Regions from separate parts of the Homo sapiens genome. Here region 1 is linked to region 2. Evidence: promoter capture Hi-C in 16 types of primary human blood cells and fetal thymus (Javierre and others, 2016). All regions are on one chromosome and are shown on one strand. The core of a region is centred on a gene start or on the middle of the fragment in contact, and the rest is flanking DNA. Distances in the headings are between cores, read along the strand shown.

Region 1 (4,039 bases), core at 402-2,901, 1.1 Mb after region 2:
CCTGAAGAGTTTGCTGCCATTTTCCTATTTTGTTTCAAGTATGTCCAGTGGCAATTGGTCAGCACTTCACAATCACCTATAAAATATGTGTACACACATATACAATGCACCATATTTTAATCACAAACTAAAAGGAACAGCTAGCCTCCTTACAATGAAATGTTTGCTGTTTCTTAATCTCTTCAGAAAGATACATTTGTGCCGGGCGCGGTGGCTCACGCCTGTAATCCCAGCACTTTGGGAGGCCGAGGCGGGCGGATCACGAGGTCAGCAGATCGAGACCATCCTGGCTAACATGGTGAAACCCAGTCTCTACTAAAAATAAAATTAAAAAAAAAAATCAGCCGGGTGTGGTGGCAAGCGCCTGCAGTCCCAGCTACTCGGGAGGGCGAGACGGGAGAATCACTTGAACCCGGGTGGCGGAGGTTGCAGTGAGCCGAGATCGCGCCACTGCACTCCAGTTTGGGCCACAGAGCGAGACAGCGAGACTCGGTCTCAAAAAAAAAAAAAAAGAAAAGAAAGAAAGATACATTTGAAATGTACACAGACTGAAACAAATGTAAACTCTGCTAGTGCCTCAAGCATTTAATTAAATACGGCATTGTTTATTCTTGCAGATGTTCATACCATTTAGCATTACTGTCTTTAATAAACGTCATTAGGTTGTATTTACCAAATATATCAACCAATTGATAGAGTCAATATAATCATGGTGCTAGGAAGAAAAATCATTCATCTATGGTGTCTCTGCATTCGTCTAAAACACATACCCAAAAACTACTGTGTACACTGAAAGCTAAAAAAGGTAAAGGAGTACTGTATCTGCTCTGCACCATACACTGTGTAACATGCTCGAAATTAGTTCCTTTATTTATTTATCACCATTTTATAGATGAGGAAACCGTACCCAGGGTCATAGAGCTAGTAGGAATTATTTGGGCTGCTGGTTTCCAAACTTCGTGCTTTCGTACTAAATCCTGGGGAGATCCAAGATGAGCAAGACCCTAATCCTGCTTTCAGAAGGGAAAATAAAGTCTTATTCAAGCAACCATACTATTAATTAAAAAAAAAAAAAGCTTAACAAACCCGCTCTTTAAAAGGTGGGCACAGTGCCGGAGGCAAAGAATTGATTTCATTGGCAGCAAAGAGTGATGCCTTAGTCTAGGGAGCCCGGGAAAGACACAAGGGATAGAAAACAGACACCGGTTTTTAGTAAATGAATCGTTAGGTGTCTCCAGCGGCTGAAACACAGAGCGAGCAATGCGGGGTTAGGACTGGAGGACAACAGGGCCATCTTGTGACAGGGTAGACTGGCGTGCCAGAAAGGTCCCTGCCTACGGATGTGCAGAGCCGGCTGGGCCCGGGCTGTGAACGAGACGAAGGAAGCAAGTAGGAGCCAGAAATGTTAGGTGGCAAGGTCGGAAGGGAGGTCGCTGCCTGTAGCAACAAAGACGGCGGCGACAGGTTAGCACCGGAGCCACACTTTTCTATTGCCCGGTGCCTCCAGACTGTCGTACTTACCTGGGACCCGAGGACACCGGGACCGCCTCTCCTTACAATCGCTGCTCTTAAAGGGGGCGCGACCACTTAGGCAAGAGGAGCTCAACTCGCGGCACTACAACCTTCCCGCCCCCGCTGCGCTTCCGCCTCCTGACTGACGTGCGCCCCAGGGAGCGGAAACCCCGCCTCCCGCCGGGACCCAACGGCCACCGCCCGTCGTGATTCGCACTTTAGCGGCCACCTCAGTGCAGACGTCACTTTTTTTTCCAAAGAGTGACAGTCGAAGAGGCTCACGGGAGATGCAAACGGTACTTTTGGGGGCTGGGCCAGGGTGGGGCGTGGCCCGGGGCGGGGGAGGGGCGGGGCTGCCAGGCAGGGGCGGGACGGAGAACACCTGGGTCCCTAGCACCAAGACTGGCTTTTTATTCATTGCCACCGCCTGGCCGGTCTTGCGACGGTGCGAGTCCACCTCGGCTGGGCCTCGGAGGAGGGGCGACTCTAGAAGCTAAACTCGCTTTCGAGCTTTAACAACCATCTCGGATTGCGCATCCGCACACACACACACACACACACACACACACACACAAATTCAGGAATATTTTTTGTCTACAGTTTACATAATTATACACAATGAAAGCACTGAATATGGAGGATTTTTATTACAGTGCAATAATCTGCATTTAAGAAGTGGATGTGCCACATCGCAGAACACCAAGTTGCCACTAGTGGGATCACCTGCTGCCCACCTGATTCCAGCACAGTAGATAGCTACACATTTGAATTAAAAGGTAATCGTATATTGACATGTGTTCAAATTGCACTCTTTTTAATTTAAAAAAATATTTTTTATGGTGACAGTGTCTCGCTTTGTTGCCCAGGCTGGTCTTGAACTCCTGGCCTCAAGGGATCTGCCCACCTCAGCCTCCCAAAGTGCTGGGATTACAGGCGTGAGCCACCTGCCCTGCTTAAAATTGCAGTGTCTTAATCTCTTCCGAAAGATACATTTGAAAAACGCACAGACTTAAATCACAAATGTAAGCTCCCCAAGCGCCTCAAGCATTTAATTAAATAGAATGGATAATGAATTTGAACATATGTTTTTAATAATTGATGTTTGCTCAAGAGTAAAATGTTTATGATGCACAATTTTCTTGTGCATGGATCAATGACTGAAATAATCGTTTCAATATCAAGTATTTATTTACTGAAAACCAAGCATGTATTTACTCTATACCAAGCAGCTATTGAGTGCCTTCTACAATGCGAGGTGCTTCCTGTGCATCAGCTCTGGTCCTGCTGTTCCCTGATTTATATTTGAGACTCATGTTTCTTGCTCTATGTCAAGTAGCGAGCTAAGATTCAAATTTAAAGATCTGCCAGATGCTAAGGCCTGAGTTCTTAAATCTCACACATTGCCTCTGCTCTGGAGGAATGAATTCCTCTGAGACCAGTTCTTGCTGACTTGACTTTAATCCAGATATAAAGCCTAACACATGAGCATTTTGATGGTAGGCCAGGAGTCCTTTCAGTTAAGAGGACTTGGTGAGTTCTAGTATGACTAAAAAGATGACTGAGATCTATATGGCTGATAGAACCTTAGAATTTTTTTTTGTTTTGTGGCCTAGCTAATATAGAAACTAGGGCACAGAAAGTTCCAGTCTAAGTTTCAAATGGACATTCTGAACAAAGCTTATTTAAGGAGGTGGGAGTAAAAACAGTTCTAACCCTAAACAACATTTTATAATTTCTTAGCAAATTCAGCCTCTGAGAGTTGAAAGAACATTATCAGGAGAAAGATAAATTTAACTTGCTGCCAATTCTTTTGCCTTTTACTTGGTAGGTCATAGCCCTTGAAACCCTTCTGTCTTCTCCTAGAGTTTTTGGAACTTCTGCCTCATTGTGTTAACCTCTAACACAGTGGTTAATAGTGAGTCAGTTTACTTGAATGCAAATTCGAGCTTTGCCACTTAATGATGGTGAGCCCTGGTTTAACCTTTTGGTGCCTCTGTTTTGTCATCTATAAAATGGGAATAAAAATAAGTGATTGGGTATACGTAAATCACTTAGAATAGCACCTGGCACATAATAAGAACTCAATAAATGTTGACTATTAGAATATAAACAATGAACAATCTGTTTTACTGGGTGTCTTGGCAAGTGGTCAGTAGATCAGCTGAGCCTGGGTGTGGTGGCTCATGCCTGTAATCACAGCACTTTGGGAGGCCAAGGCAGGAGGATTGCTTGAGACCAGCCTGGGCAATATAGTGAGACCTCATCTCTAGAAAAAAATCTAAAAAATTTGCCAGGTACGGTGGTGGGTGCCTGTGGTCCCAGCTACTTAGGAGGCTGAGGTAGGAGGATTGCTTGAGCCCGGGAGGTCAAGGCTACAGTGAGCTATGATTGCGCCACTGCAGTCCAGCCAGGGCAACAGAGCAATAGACCCTGTCTCCAAAAAAAAAAAAAAAAAAAAGAAAAAGAAAAAAAAAAAAGAAAAAAAACGTCAGCTGAGAAATATACTAGGGGAAAGTCCAAGACAGAA
Region 2 (3,642 bases), core at 436-2,935:
TTTTTTCTTGCCCATGGCTCGTTTCTCTTCTTGGTACTTATTTCACACTCCCTTGTCCCCAAACTCCTCTCTAATTCACATCCTTCAAGCCATTCTCTATTCGTCCTCCAAAGTCAGTTTAGCTGTCAGCTCCTACTGGAATTGATGCTTGTAATTGATCCCGATCCTAATAATTTCAGGAGACCCTCCCATGTGTTTCCATTCATTTTATCTTTCTCATTATATATATATATAAGCATATATATAAGCCATATATAAGCATATATAAACATATATGAGATACAAATGTAAATAAGCATATATGATACACAAAATTGTTATTATATATATAACTTTTGTATCTCATTACATATACATGTATCTCTCTCATTACATATATAACTGTATATGTTGCTATATAGTCCCATGCAATATTTAGTGGGCTGAGGTGAAAAATAGACACATATATGTTATATATGTAATGACAGAGACATATATGTGTAATGAGATTATATATATTATATATGTAATGAGGGAGATATATGTAATGAGAGATATATATTTATTCAATGAGAAATACAAAATTATAATGTATATTCATTATGTATTATAAGTATATAATGCTATGTATCAGTATTTGATTTCACTTTATTAAAAGAGTTGATTATATCTGAACGTTTATTTATTTGTTACTGACTGTCATCCTCCATCAGAATATATGCTCTCTGAAGTTGAGCTTCTTGTTTACTTTGCTCACCACTGTATCCCCAGTGCCTAAGTAACAGTGCCCGGCTCAGAGTAGAGACTCAATAAACATTTACCAGATGAATGATAGAAACAGATTTTTTGAGGCAAAGTTTTTCATGTTGCCATATAGTCCCATGCAATATTTTGGACATACTTATACTAAAAAATTATTATCTGAAATTCAAATGTAGGCCGGGCACGGTGGCTCACGCCTGTAATCCTAGCATTTTGGAAGGATCGCTTGATCCTTCCAGCAGGTTGTCCCGGGAACGCGCAGCCCAAGGTGGACGCACAGACCCGCGTACAGAGATTTTTTATTGTCATGACTGGGGGTGGTGGCACTACTGGCATTTAGTGTGGAGAGGCCAGATATGCTGCTAAACATCTTACAATGCAAAGGGCAGCCCCTCAAAGGCAAAGAATTATCTGGTCTAAAATGTCAATAGCGTGGAGGCTGAGAAAAACTGAACTAGATGGCTATGAACTTTCAGGGTCCCTACCTAGTACACAGGCAGCGCCTAGAATTGCTAAGTTCATCTTCCGTTTGGAAAGGCAGCATGGGGTTAGTGAGAGGAAGGCGCCCGGGGCTGGTGGCTGGCTTTAAAGGCCTACGTGCAAATCTTCTTGACGCTGATAACGGGATGCGAGAGAGCCAGGTAGGTTACCTATTGCAGCAGGTCAAGTGATGATGTCGAAAAGGATGCGTGTGCCGGACACTGTGGAAGGTAAAGCGCTCCGCACAGCCCGCCTAAGTGCGCCCGGGACAGAGCCATCCCCCAGGTGCTACCAAACAAATCCTCCAGCTGCTGGTACGGGGAAGGTGTTCAGTGACACACCGGAAGCAGCCTAGTGGCTGAGGCGTCCTTCTCCCTACCAACGGGTTGCGAAGGAAGTAGTTGCTGTAGCCGCGCCCTGTGCGCCTGCGCGGAGGCGTCGGCTGCTGACGTGTAGCTGGGGCCAGACGGGACTAGCCGGGCGCGCGGCTGAGTGCTGCAGAATCGCTGGGGTGGCAGAGCCGCCAGCGAGGCTGGGGATGGGGGCGCCGCTGCTCTCTCCCGGCTGGGGAGCCGGGGCTGCCGGCCGGCGCTGGTGGATGCTGCTGGCGCCCCTGCTGCCGGCGCTGCTGCTGGTGCGGCCCGCGGGGGCCCTGGTGGAGGGGCTCTACTGCGGCACGCGGGACTGCTACGAGGTGCTGGGCGTGAGCCGCTCGGCGGGCAAGGCGGAGATCGCGCGGGCCTACCGCCAGCTGGCCCGGCGCTACCACCCTGACCGCTACCGGCCCCAGCCCGGAGACGAGGGCCCCGGGCGGACGCCGCAGAGCGCCGAGGAGGCTTTCCTGCTGGTGGCAACCGCCTACGAGACACTCAAGGTGAGGCCTGCGGGCGTGGAGGGGCTTCGAAGACTGGCCGCGGGAAGCCCACGGCGCCTTCCGACCCCGGTCCGCGGAGCGTGGGCCTCTGTGACCCCGAAACTGAGCACAGCCACCACCGCGACCTTTAAGATACTCACGTTTCCCACGTGGCCCTGTGAAAGAGCCGAGTCGGCCCCACGGGGCCTTGGGGGGCACAGCTAGCCTCCTTGCCCTCTTCCTTTTTGTGACATTGTTATGCAAAACTTTGGCCATCTTACGATTTCGTGAAAATATTTTAATAACGTGCATTTCACATTCGAAAAGCAGGGTGATCATTATTAGTAGGATCTGGGGTAGCCCACAACAGGGAAAGTCTCGAATATCAAGTGACAACTGTGATCGCATCAGTTTGATATGACAGAAAATTGGTTTCTGGAAATAGTGTTAATGGTGACGCTTAGTTTGGGTTTAAGGAACTAAGAAAACACTGAGAAGAACAATGAACACCAGTCAAAAGGCTGGATGTGAGTCTTTGCTGTGACACCCCTGTATGACCTTGGATAGTGACTTATTATGTTGAAATAGCTGTTTCTTCATATGCAAAATTAAGGCCATGATACCTCCTCTCAGAGTTATTATGGGGATTAAATGATAAGTGTGCGAACCGCCCCCCTTTCCATAGGATCCATAAATAGGTGCTTAATGACTTGGGTACAAAACTCTGAGAATTTCTAGTAGGAAATATTTTGTGAATATGTATTTGTATTTCATTTGACAGGTTTTATTGAGTCTTGTGGGGATGAGAGATTTAGCCCGATGCTGTTTTCTTCTACTACTGCAAAAAATCAAACCATCTAGGACATCACGAAGTATAAATCGTACTTGATGGTGGTATTACTGCTTGAAGGGCCCCATCATACTAATGCGTCAGCGATTGTAGTTGTAAAGTATTTCTTTTCTAGCCTTTTTTTTTTTTTCCCGAGGCAAAATTTTCTATGTTGCCAGGTAGCCTGCTTTTAATGATTGTACTTTGAGTGGATATAATTTTACCTTGGATTGTTCCTCCAGATTGTTTTTCCAGAGCTGAAAATAGTCAAGGAGCTAACAACTTTATTGATGCCTTCCAGAGCAGTTTGGATAATTTGGAGTCATAAAATGAGTGGTGGAGGGGCGGGCCCTGAACTAGGTAAACTAGGTGAATTGAACTAGGTAAAATTTAATTTACCTAGTTCATTAAATTCTCACTAGCGTTAGTGAGATTGTAATTTTTATTGGCAGTTAACTGAGGGATGGCTGGGGAACTGGGAAAGTGCTGAGGCCCCAAAGGGCTTTGTTGCCGATTATGTAAAAAGTGATGGAAAAAAGACTCCAGAAAAAATAGGAAAGAACTCTCCATCCAAGGCACTTCAGCATATGAAGCTCCAACCTCTGTTCCTTGTAGTCAGCCAGAAGCCCTGCTGGTGCGTGAGGGAGCCCTGGACCAGTGTGTGAAATCATAATGGGATTTACTAGGGATAGTAAAATTGATAGGATTAGGGATGTTAATCATGTTAATTTGTTTCAGG

What was found. Contacts are between HindIII fragments. The CHiCAGO score rates a contact against its expected background, and 5 or more counts as called.
Region 1: a contact is called between the fragment with the promoter of INIP here and the fragment with the promoter of DNAJC25 in region 2, in 2 of 17 cell types (fetal thymus and naive CD4 T cells). The highest score is 6.6, in fetal thymus.

The regions. Positions count from the first base shown.
Region 1 is chr9:112,716,466-112,720,504 of GRCh38, forward strand. It overlaps INIP (INTS3 and NABP interacting protein), which reads right to left and starts at 1,652. Exons shown (of 5, transcript NM_021218.3): 1 at 1,522-1,652; 2 at 1-76. The coding sequence starts at 20. RefSeq lists an enhancer at 1,234-1,333 and a silencer at 1,704-1,863. The HindIII fragment of the contact is 2,113 bases long and covers 1,075-3,187 here.
Region 2 is chr9:111,629,649-111,633,290 of GRCh38, forward strand. It overlaps DNAJC25 (DnaJ heat shock protein family (Hsp40) member C25), which reads left to right and starts at 1,686. Exons shown (of 4, transcript NM_001015882.3): 1 at 1,686-2,095. The coding sequence starts at 1,760. DNAJC25-GNG10 (DNAJC25-GNG10 readthrough) reads left to right here and starts at 1,686. Exons shown (of 3, transcript NM_004125.4): 1 at 1,686-2,095. The coding sequence starts at 1,760. It overlaps LOC107987116 (a long non-coding RNA gene), which reads right to left and starts at 1,555. Exons shown (of 2, transcript XR_001746897.2): 1 at 1,392-1,555. RefSeq lists enhancers at 1,550-1,639, 2,370-2,419 and a silencer at 1,730-2,019. The HindIII fragment of the contact is 9,325 bases long and covers 1-3,642 here.